2 separate regions of the Homo sapiens genome follow, and region 1 is linked to region 2. Evidence: promoter capture Hi-C in 16 types of primary human blood cells and fetal thymus (Javierre and others, 2016). All regions are on one chromosome and are shown on one strand. The core of a region is centred on a gene start or on the middle of the fragment in contact, and the rest is flanking DNA. Distances in the headings are between cores, read along the strand shown.

Region 1 (3,896 bases), core at 866-3,365, 210 kb before region 2:
TCCCATCTTCAGCACTGCAGCTGGGCTGGAGATGGGAGGAGGAAGGTGGTGGGGCAGGGGGGCAGTGGGGGGCAGGCTGTCCTCCCAGTGTCCCCCCTGGGCTTGTGCATTGGGAGGGGCTCTGTGTGGTCACCCCAGTCCCCTGCTCCACCCCCACCCAGCTCCCCTCCACAGGTCTTGCATTCTGTCCCCGGGAGCACCAGGTCTTTGCTGCCTCAGGGCCTTTTCTATTGTTTTACCTTTTGTTGAGGTCCTCTGACCCCACCTCCGCCAGACCTGAGATGAGATCAGAGTCGTGTTAGACTTTTGGCTGCAGAATCTGCCCTTCCCTCAGAAGGGGAAATCCAAGGCCATGGTTCCTCCTCACTGGCGTGCACAGTCGTGCTTCCCACTAAGCTGCAGATTTCTCTATAAGGACTCAGATTCCTTGGTTGTCAGCTCAGCGTGTTTGGTGGAGGGGAGAGCAGAGCAGAGCGTGAAGGTGCTGGGAGGCCTGCCTCAAAGTTGGCAAAACCCACAGCGTCTCAGAGCTGCGTTCATGTTCTAGTTCCTGCCTCTGTGCCAGTGAGACCAGAAAACCAGGCCACTCAAAAGCCTCTTGCGTGTGCTCTCTATGAATGGAGGCTGGGGCAAGGGCAGGACCCCTGGGCCTCAGGCGAGAAGAAGCAGATTTACCCTCAGCTTTCTTCCTGTCTGTGGCATTGGCTGTGCCCCGGATTTTAGGAGCCTTGGCCCTTCTCATCCGAGAAGCACCTCTAACGCGAACCCTCCTTCGCGCAGCTATAGCTGCAAAGATGAACCGTCTTTGAATTGTACAAAAGCTTATGGTCATTCTCCTACTCTCTGTAGGAAGCTTGCTGTCTTCGATACGTGGAGCTCCTTGGCGGTCCACATTGCAATGGACAACACTGTTGTGATGGAGGAAATCAGTAAGTGGCTCAGAGTTTCCATGGACAAGAAAGTTGAAATCACGGGCAACATACACACTTCCTCGCCTGAGTCCCCACGGGAGCCTCGGCGAGTGTTGTCAGTCGCCCCATGCCGTGCAGGTGCTCCGTGGGGCCTGTGCGCCAAGCCAGATGCACGGTGGCCTCGCTCTCCTATCCCGGCGGTCATACCAAGAGAGGAGAGCCCAGGCTGTCTGGAGGCCGCGACTTGGTATCTCACGTCGTGTTTTGTGTCTTGGTTACAAATCGTTTATGAAGGCCCTGCTGTGCTTAGGCGCCCTCGTGTGGGAATTCTGGTGAAGTTATTTTGCGTGCCTTGATGTGCGACAGAGAGATGTAGCAACCATCTCTAGCTGCACCATCTCGAGCAAAGGCACGTCGTGAAGGCAGAGCTCTTTTCAGCTTTCTGGAAGAAAGGTCTGCTGCAACCCTGAAGGAACCTGGGCGTGGCAACATTTACATCTAGGAGGAAAACTGTGGCTCAGTTTTAACAAATGGGCTCATTGAGTGAGTTCCAAATTCATGTTTCACCTTCCATGATGTAGCCAAGCTGAGAACTCTTAAAAATGCCTCATTGCCTTTTTCACTCAGGGCCACCTTTTTCCCAAGGAACTTCTCAAAACTCCCTCAATTCCAATTTTATTGAAGTTCTACATGTAGGCTATTGCCTTGAATCCAATTTTCCATAAGAAAGAGCTCATTTAGGCCGGGCGCGGTGGCTCATGCCTGTAATCCCAGCACCTTGGGAGGCCGAGGTGGGTGGATCATGAGGTCAGGAGTTCAAGACCAGCCTGGCCAACATGGTGAAACCCCGTCTCTACTAAAAATACAGAAACTAGCTGGGCATGGTGGCACGCGCCTATAGTCCCAGCTACTCGGGAGGCTGAGGCAGAAGAATCGCTTGAACCTGGGAGGCGGAGGTTGCAGTGAGCCTTGATCACGCCACTGCACTCCAGCCTGGCCACAGAGCGAGAATCCGTCCCCCGCCCCCCAAAAAAAAGACCTCATTCAGAGCCACAGCCGTAACTGCGCACAGATTCACAGTGGGAGTGGGTCCTGCCCTGTGACTGTGGGTGTGCCAGGTCACCACACAGGTGTGTGCTGGGTCACAGACACGCCCCTTCCCTGCCTCTCCATTCTGTTTCTTCATCGTCTGGCCATCCTCGGGGGCATTGTGACACAGCGGAGGGAGTGAGGCAGGACTTTATAAGGGAGAGTGAGGCTGGCTTCTGCAGCATTGAGAGCTTTGCCACAGCAGGCTCTCCTTCCAGGATTCTGTTCCTCAGAGACTTGAACTTGGGATCATAACCAAAGGGTGTTTGTTTCTTCCATCTGCCTTTTTCCTCCATTCTGTTTCTTGAAATTTTTATAAAACATTGGAAACACAGGAAGAGTACAAAGAAAGAGAAAAATTATTGATTTTACCACTCAGAAATAACTCATATGAGCATTTTGACATTCTTACTCTCAGTATTTCTCCTGTGCTTTTCAAAAACTTACATAGTTTCCTAAGTATTTTCTCCTGGCCATGAGTGACAGCATTGTAATTATTAACTGGCTACACAATATACTATTATACCTTAGTTCCCTGTTCACTGCCCCATCCTCCCTCCCGTGTTTGGGGAAATCACTTACCCCCTCGTTCCGCACGCGTGCTCAGGATCTCACCAAGTCACACCTCAGTCCCTGGCCTCGGATTAGGGAGGCTGTTGCTGGGTGCAGTGGCCAGGAAGGCGCAAGGGTCAGGGCTTCCTAGAACCTCCGTCCCTCTGGGTGCAGGTAGCACTGGTGGGAGTGTTGGGGGCAGCTTGTCTGTGTGGACTCCAGCTCCGTCCCTTCGGGAGTCTCAGGGCTGCCCAAAGCAGTGCTGCTGAAACGTGGCTTGTCAGAGTGAGAGTGGAGTCAGGTCCTGGAAGAGCTTGAATCTGCATTTCCCAGCCCCTGGGGATGGTGGCTCCCGGGAGGATGTGGAGGCTGCCTGGTCTGACTGGCTTCGTCTCACTGCGTCAGCTGCCTGAAAGGACACTGTTCCTCACAGGAGCATGTGGAAGGTGCCTGATGCCCCCATTTAGGAAGAAAGGCATCCACATCCAGCCAGCAAAGGCACTGGCATTGATGCACAAGGCTTGGGTTTCTGGGTTCCTGAGTGTGGCGTGGTGTTGTGAGGAGGACATCGGGGTCGTTCTGAATGACCCCTACCAAAAGCCCCAGGAGGGAGTAGTGGGGGGAGGGCAGGAAGCAGGCTGCTTTTTTCAGTCGTGCTGCTAAGAGTGCGCAAGGGAGGACGTCTGAGGAAGAAGTCCGCAAAGCCGAAGCTAGAGAAACAGACGTGTCCTTGGCTAAGCAAGGACTTTTCTTCTAGTTTCTCGGAACTGCTTGTGGAAGGAGCAGTTAGATAGGAGAAGACTGATGCCATTCAGAAATTCCACTAAAGCTTCTTCCTGCAGCGAAAGAGCTGCCTGACGGTGTTCCCACTCAGATTTTAGGTGAAGCCTGTGGGGTAAGGGGAGACCTTACTGCCTACAGTGTCCCCATCCACCAACCCATCCCCCCCGCAACTCATCCTTCTGTCCACCCCCAGTCAAAGGCCAGCCAGGACATCCTTAGCATGCTCTTCTTGTCCTTAACGTTGATGGGCTTAGACCTTTCTAACGACAGTAGACAGAATGTCACTGAATGTAGGGAGGAAATACAGATTGGAAAACGTGTCAGTCTGGCAGTGAGGACAAATGACTCCAATGAAAGAAAAGTAAATACCAGAGCAAGCACAGTCAGAAACAGAGTGGGGAGGAGAATCACAATAGCTGGAACTCAACTCTCTGAGAGGCAGTGCAGCCAAATAGAGGCAGCTGAGAGCAGAGTATGTGGATTAGAACTTTTCGGGAGAGTTGGCCACTGAAGGAGTAGGAGAAAATTCCCCTGAGTTGGTGAGAGTTGAGTCTTTAGAGC
Region 2 (3,473 bases), core at 127-2,626:
GGCCATCATCCCAGCACTGATGGATAGAAGAAAATGAAGCTGGGATGAGAAACGCGGGGCTTTCCCTGGCAGTCTGGCCCTGTATGGAGGCCCCTTCCCAGAGTGCGTCCCACTGGCTTCCTCTTCTATCTTGCAGTCACACCTAGCTGCAAGGCGGGAAGATGTCACAGGTTTGAAAGGGCCGAAAAGAAGGTTCAGAAATGAAAACTATGACAAGGCGCTTGCCAGCATTAGCTGCAGAGTCGACAGAGACGAGGAGATAATGTGTGAAGTGGTAGAAAAATGAGAAGAGATTGTTCAGTGTGCAGGGCAGAGAGATGGCGAGATGGGAGCTGTGAGGAGAGCCGGGTGGCCGGGAGCCTCCCGGGGGCAGATCTGTGCTGAGGTTTTGCAGGGATCAGCTGGCTGTCTCCGCCCCTGCACGTCCCGGCTCCTTCTCAGCTCACCCTTTCTTGTTGTGCCATGACAGGTGGCTGCCACGCACAGCAATGCTGTTGAATCTCAGAAATTAAACAACCTGAAAAGGCGTGAGAAGCTGGGCACATGCATGAATTGTTTATGTAAAGCTCAGAAGCTGCACAGCTAAAGGGCTCGGTGAGGGAGGCATCATAGGTGTTGAAGCCTCAACGTTGTCTGTGCAGGCACGGCCAGGCTGGTGGCACCTCTGCCAGGAGGGCAGGGGGTGGGGGTGGGGCCGCGGGCTGAGATCGGGAGGGAACAGGCAGCCAGCTCTGGAGGCTGGCAGAGCGAGGTTTTGTTTCTTCCTATAGGACGTGGTGACTTAAGACTTTAGAATAATTTGTGAAGCTCTGCATTTATGTTTTAGGCATTTTATGTAAATATTTTATATTTCTCACTAGTAAAAAGTTTAAGAGAATACACCCACGGGACAATCTGCAATGATACACGTTCTATAAAGTTCTTCTCAGCTTTGTTTGTGTGAAAAGCATTAGTGCTGTTTGCAGAGAGAAGCTGAGTGAATAAGTTACATGATAGCCACAAGCTGGAAAAATACCAAGTGTTCAGCAAGGGATGAGTGTGGGCCACCGCTCCTGATGTGCACTAGAAAGAGAGGGCTGTGGATGATTCCTTGGTGCGATGTGTGAAAACACCCGGGCCTCTACACGCACGGGTCTGGGGAGGCCCCTGCGTGTCCACGGGCCCACGCCCACCACCACCACCACGGTGCTGCCACAGGGATGCTCTCTGGGGGGCGGGGTCATGGGAGATTGCATTGTATTGTATTTTTCCTTTCTGCTTCCCATTTCTCGGAGACAAATCTGGTTGCCATGGAGACCATGCTGTTGTCAAGGTGGCTGATTGGCCGGCGCGGGATGCGGGGACGTTTCCTTGGGCCCCCGGCGGGCGCAGCCCTCAGCCCACACTGCGGAGCCAGGCGGCAGCATGGACCGGGCTGGGGCAGACATGTGGGCCAGCACCTTCACCCTGGCCATGGCCGAGAGGAAGCCCCAGGACGTCTGGGTTCTGCTACCTGAGCACAGCCTGGTCCCGGGATGCCTGGACGGCGGTGGTGTCCAGTACCTGCTGGTGGGGCTCTCGAGGTGCGGCCAGAGGTTGGGGACCCTGGGAGAGGCAGGGGGCTGAAGGTGCTTTTCCACGGGACCTTGGGTGGTCCCAGAGGCTGGGTGGGGCTGTTGGGCCTCGTCTTGTCCCCGAGACGGGAGGGTGGGGCTGGGTGCTCCTTCTCCCGCCGGAGCCCCTGCCTCGCCATGCTGGGCACACGGCTGCTGACGCAGGGGTCCCGGGGAAGACATGGCGGGTGCCTCATGGAGAGTTTGGTTTCCCTCACTCGGCTCCTTGGGCCAGCGCTGCCCTTGGACACAGGCTCATCTCCTGCTTCCATGGCACTGCCGTGGTCTCGCAGCCATCAGTGCTGACAGGTGGGCCCTGGGGCGTGCCGGAGCCTGTGGTCACCATCCGGCCCTGTGTTGCACACAGCGGGGTGCTCGGCCCTGATCGGGGGCCCGGGGTGGCTGTGGGTCACAAGTGAGCCTCACAGGCCGTCATCACGGTTGTGGTGCCGTCAGCGCAGCAGGGCGGGCGCCATGCGCTTCTCCAACTGGCAAGGCATCCACAGCTCGGCCGGGTGCCAGCTGGGAGGGGCGCGGGGCAGCTCCACATCCTCGCAGATGCCCGGCCTGACAGGCCCCCAGGCTGCTGGCTGGTCCGTCCCTCTGTGGAGACACCCTGGGCAAAGGGGGAGTCGTCCTGCCCTTTGACACAGCTCCTCAGTGCCTGAGACCCCTGGGGCCAGGTGTGTGCAGAATCCCAGCTTTTTCAGAAGCTGGGAAAGTAATAACCCGTGTTGGGGTCTGAGAAGTGCTGGGAAGCACATCACTGTTCCCACAGCCAGGTGGAGATGGCTCTGAGCGGCTCCCAGCTGGCGGGAGAGAACTGAGGACGGCTGCCCCAACATGCAGCCCCAGCGCCCGTGGCTTTGGCTCCTCAGTCCCATTTAAATAAAGTCAGCAGTTCAGTTCCTCCAGCACGAACGTGTCCACGGGCTCTGTGGCCAGTGTGGTTGGAGGCTGCAGGCAGGGCAGTGTGGCTATAGAACATTCTGTCATCCAGAAACTTCCACTGCCTGGAACTGAATCATAGCCTCTCACTCATGCAGGGTTCCCTGAAGCTCACAGCTGCTTGTGTGGCTAGCAAATGGTCACCGGTCTGATGACCGCCATGGACAAGCCAATCCCTCCCAGTGCTCTCCCCAAACCTCTCCTCGCCTGGTGACGCCCAGCAGGGCTGCCCGGGCCATGACCGCAGGCCTCCGTGACATCCTTCCCCTCAGCTGGCAGGCGACCTCCTGGATCGCCTCCTCTCAGTCAGGACAGGGACCCCCACTTGCTGAGCCCCCAGGGACAGCCCCCACATGCATGCTTTTCCCCTCCTAAGTGTGTCGGCAGGCCTGCCTCTTCCTGTGTTAACCCCAACTCACAAAACACCAGCAGAGCCACGCAGGTGGCAGGCTGCCGACGCCTCACGGAGGCCAGGCTGGAGCGGGTTTTGTTGAAAAACTGCTGAGAGGAGGTTTGCTTTGCTTCTCAGTGCTCCACATGAGGGGGCTGCGGGCTAGTGCGCATGGGCCTGCTTTTGCCTGTGTGTGGCCGAGGGGCTGGTGGTTTCAGAGCCTCGGCACAGGCAGGAGCAGGTGCTAGGCTGCCTTGGCCGCGGCCCTGGGTGGCTGGGGGGTGAGGTTTGAGGTTTGAGTGTGGGATGTGAGGCAGGGGGCAGCGAGGCGCTGGGGTCGGATGGGCAAGGAGGCCGCAGAGCAGAGTGCGAGGGCTGGGCGTGGGGCCTCTTTCTCCTGCACTCACACACACTTCTTTCCCCGCCGCAGGCTCCAGTGCGGTCACTGTCCGGGGACCTGGGACTCGGCCCATGTGCACGTCCTCTTCCACCTGTGGTGGGACAGGGCCAGCCACCGGGGGCTGGTGAAGATGCGCATCTGG

Evidence for each region. The method cuts DNA at HindIII sites, captures the fragments that hold promoters and counts their contacts. A CHiCAGO score of 5 or more calls a contact.
Region 1: a fragment that was not itself captured here is called in contact with the fragment with the promoter of RTP5 in region 2 in 2 of 17 cell types (megakaryocytes and endothelial precursors); the score reaches 8.0 in megakaryocytes.

What each region holds. Positions count from the first base shown.
Region 1 is chr2:241,658,259-241,662,154 of GRCh38, forward strand. It overlaps ATG4B (autophagy related 4B cysteine peptidase), which reads left to right. Exons shown (of 13, transcript NM_013325.5): 7 at 850-929. Among named protein-coding and RNA genes, the nearest start is that of ATG4B, 23 kb to the left of the region's middle. RefSeq lists enhancers at 2,366-2,867, 2,868-3,367. The HindIII fragment of the contact is 2,528 bases long and covers 852-3,379 here.
Region 2 is chr2:241,868,353-241,871,825 of GRCh38, forward strand. RTP5 (receptor transporter protein 5 (putative)) reads left to right here and starts at 1,377. Exons shown (of 2, transcript NM_173821.3): 1 at 1,377-1,562; 2 at 3,362-3,473. The coding sequence starts at 1,405. RefSeq lists an enhancer at 3,461-3,473. The HindIII fragment of the contact is 6,184 bases long and covers 1-3,473 here.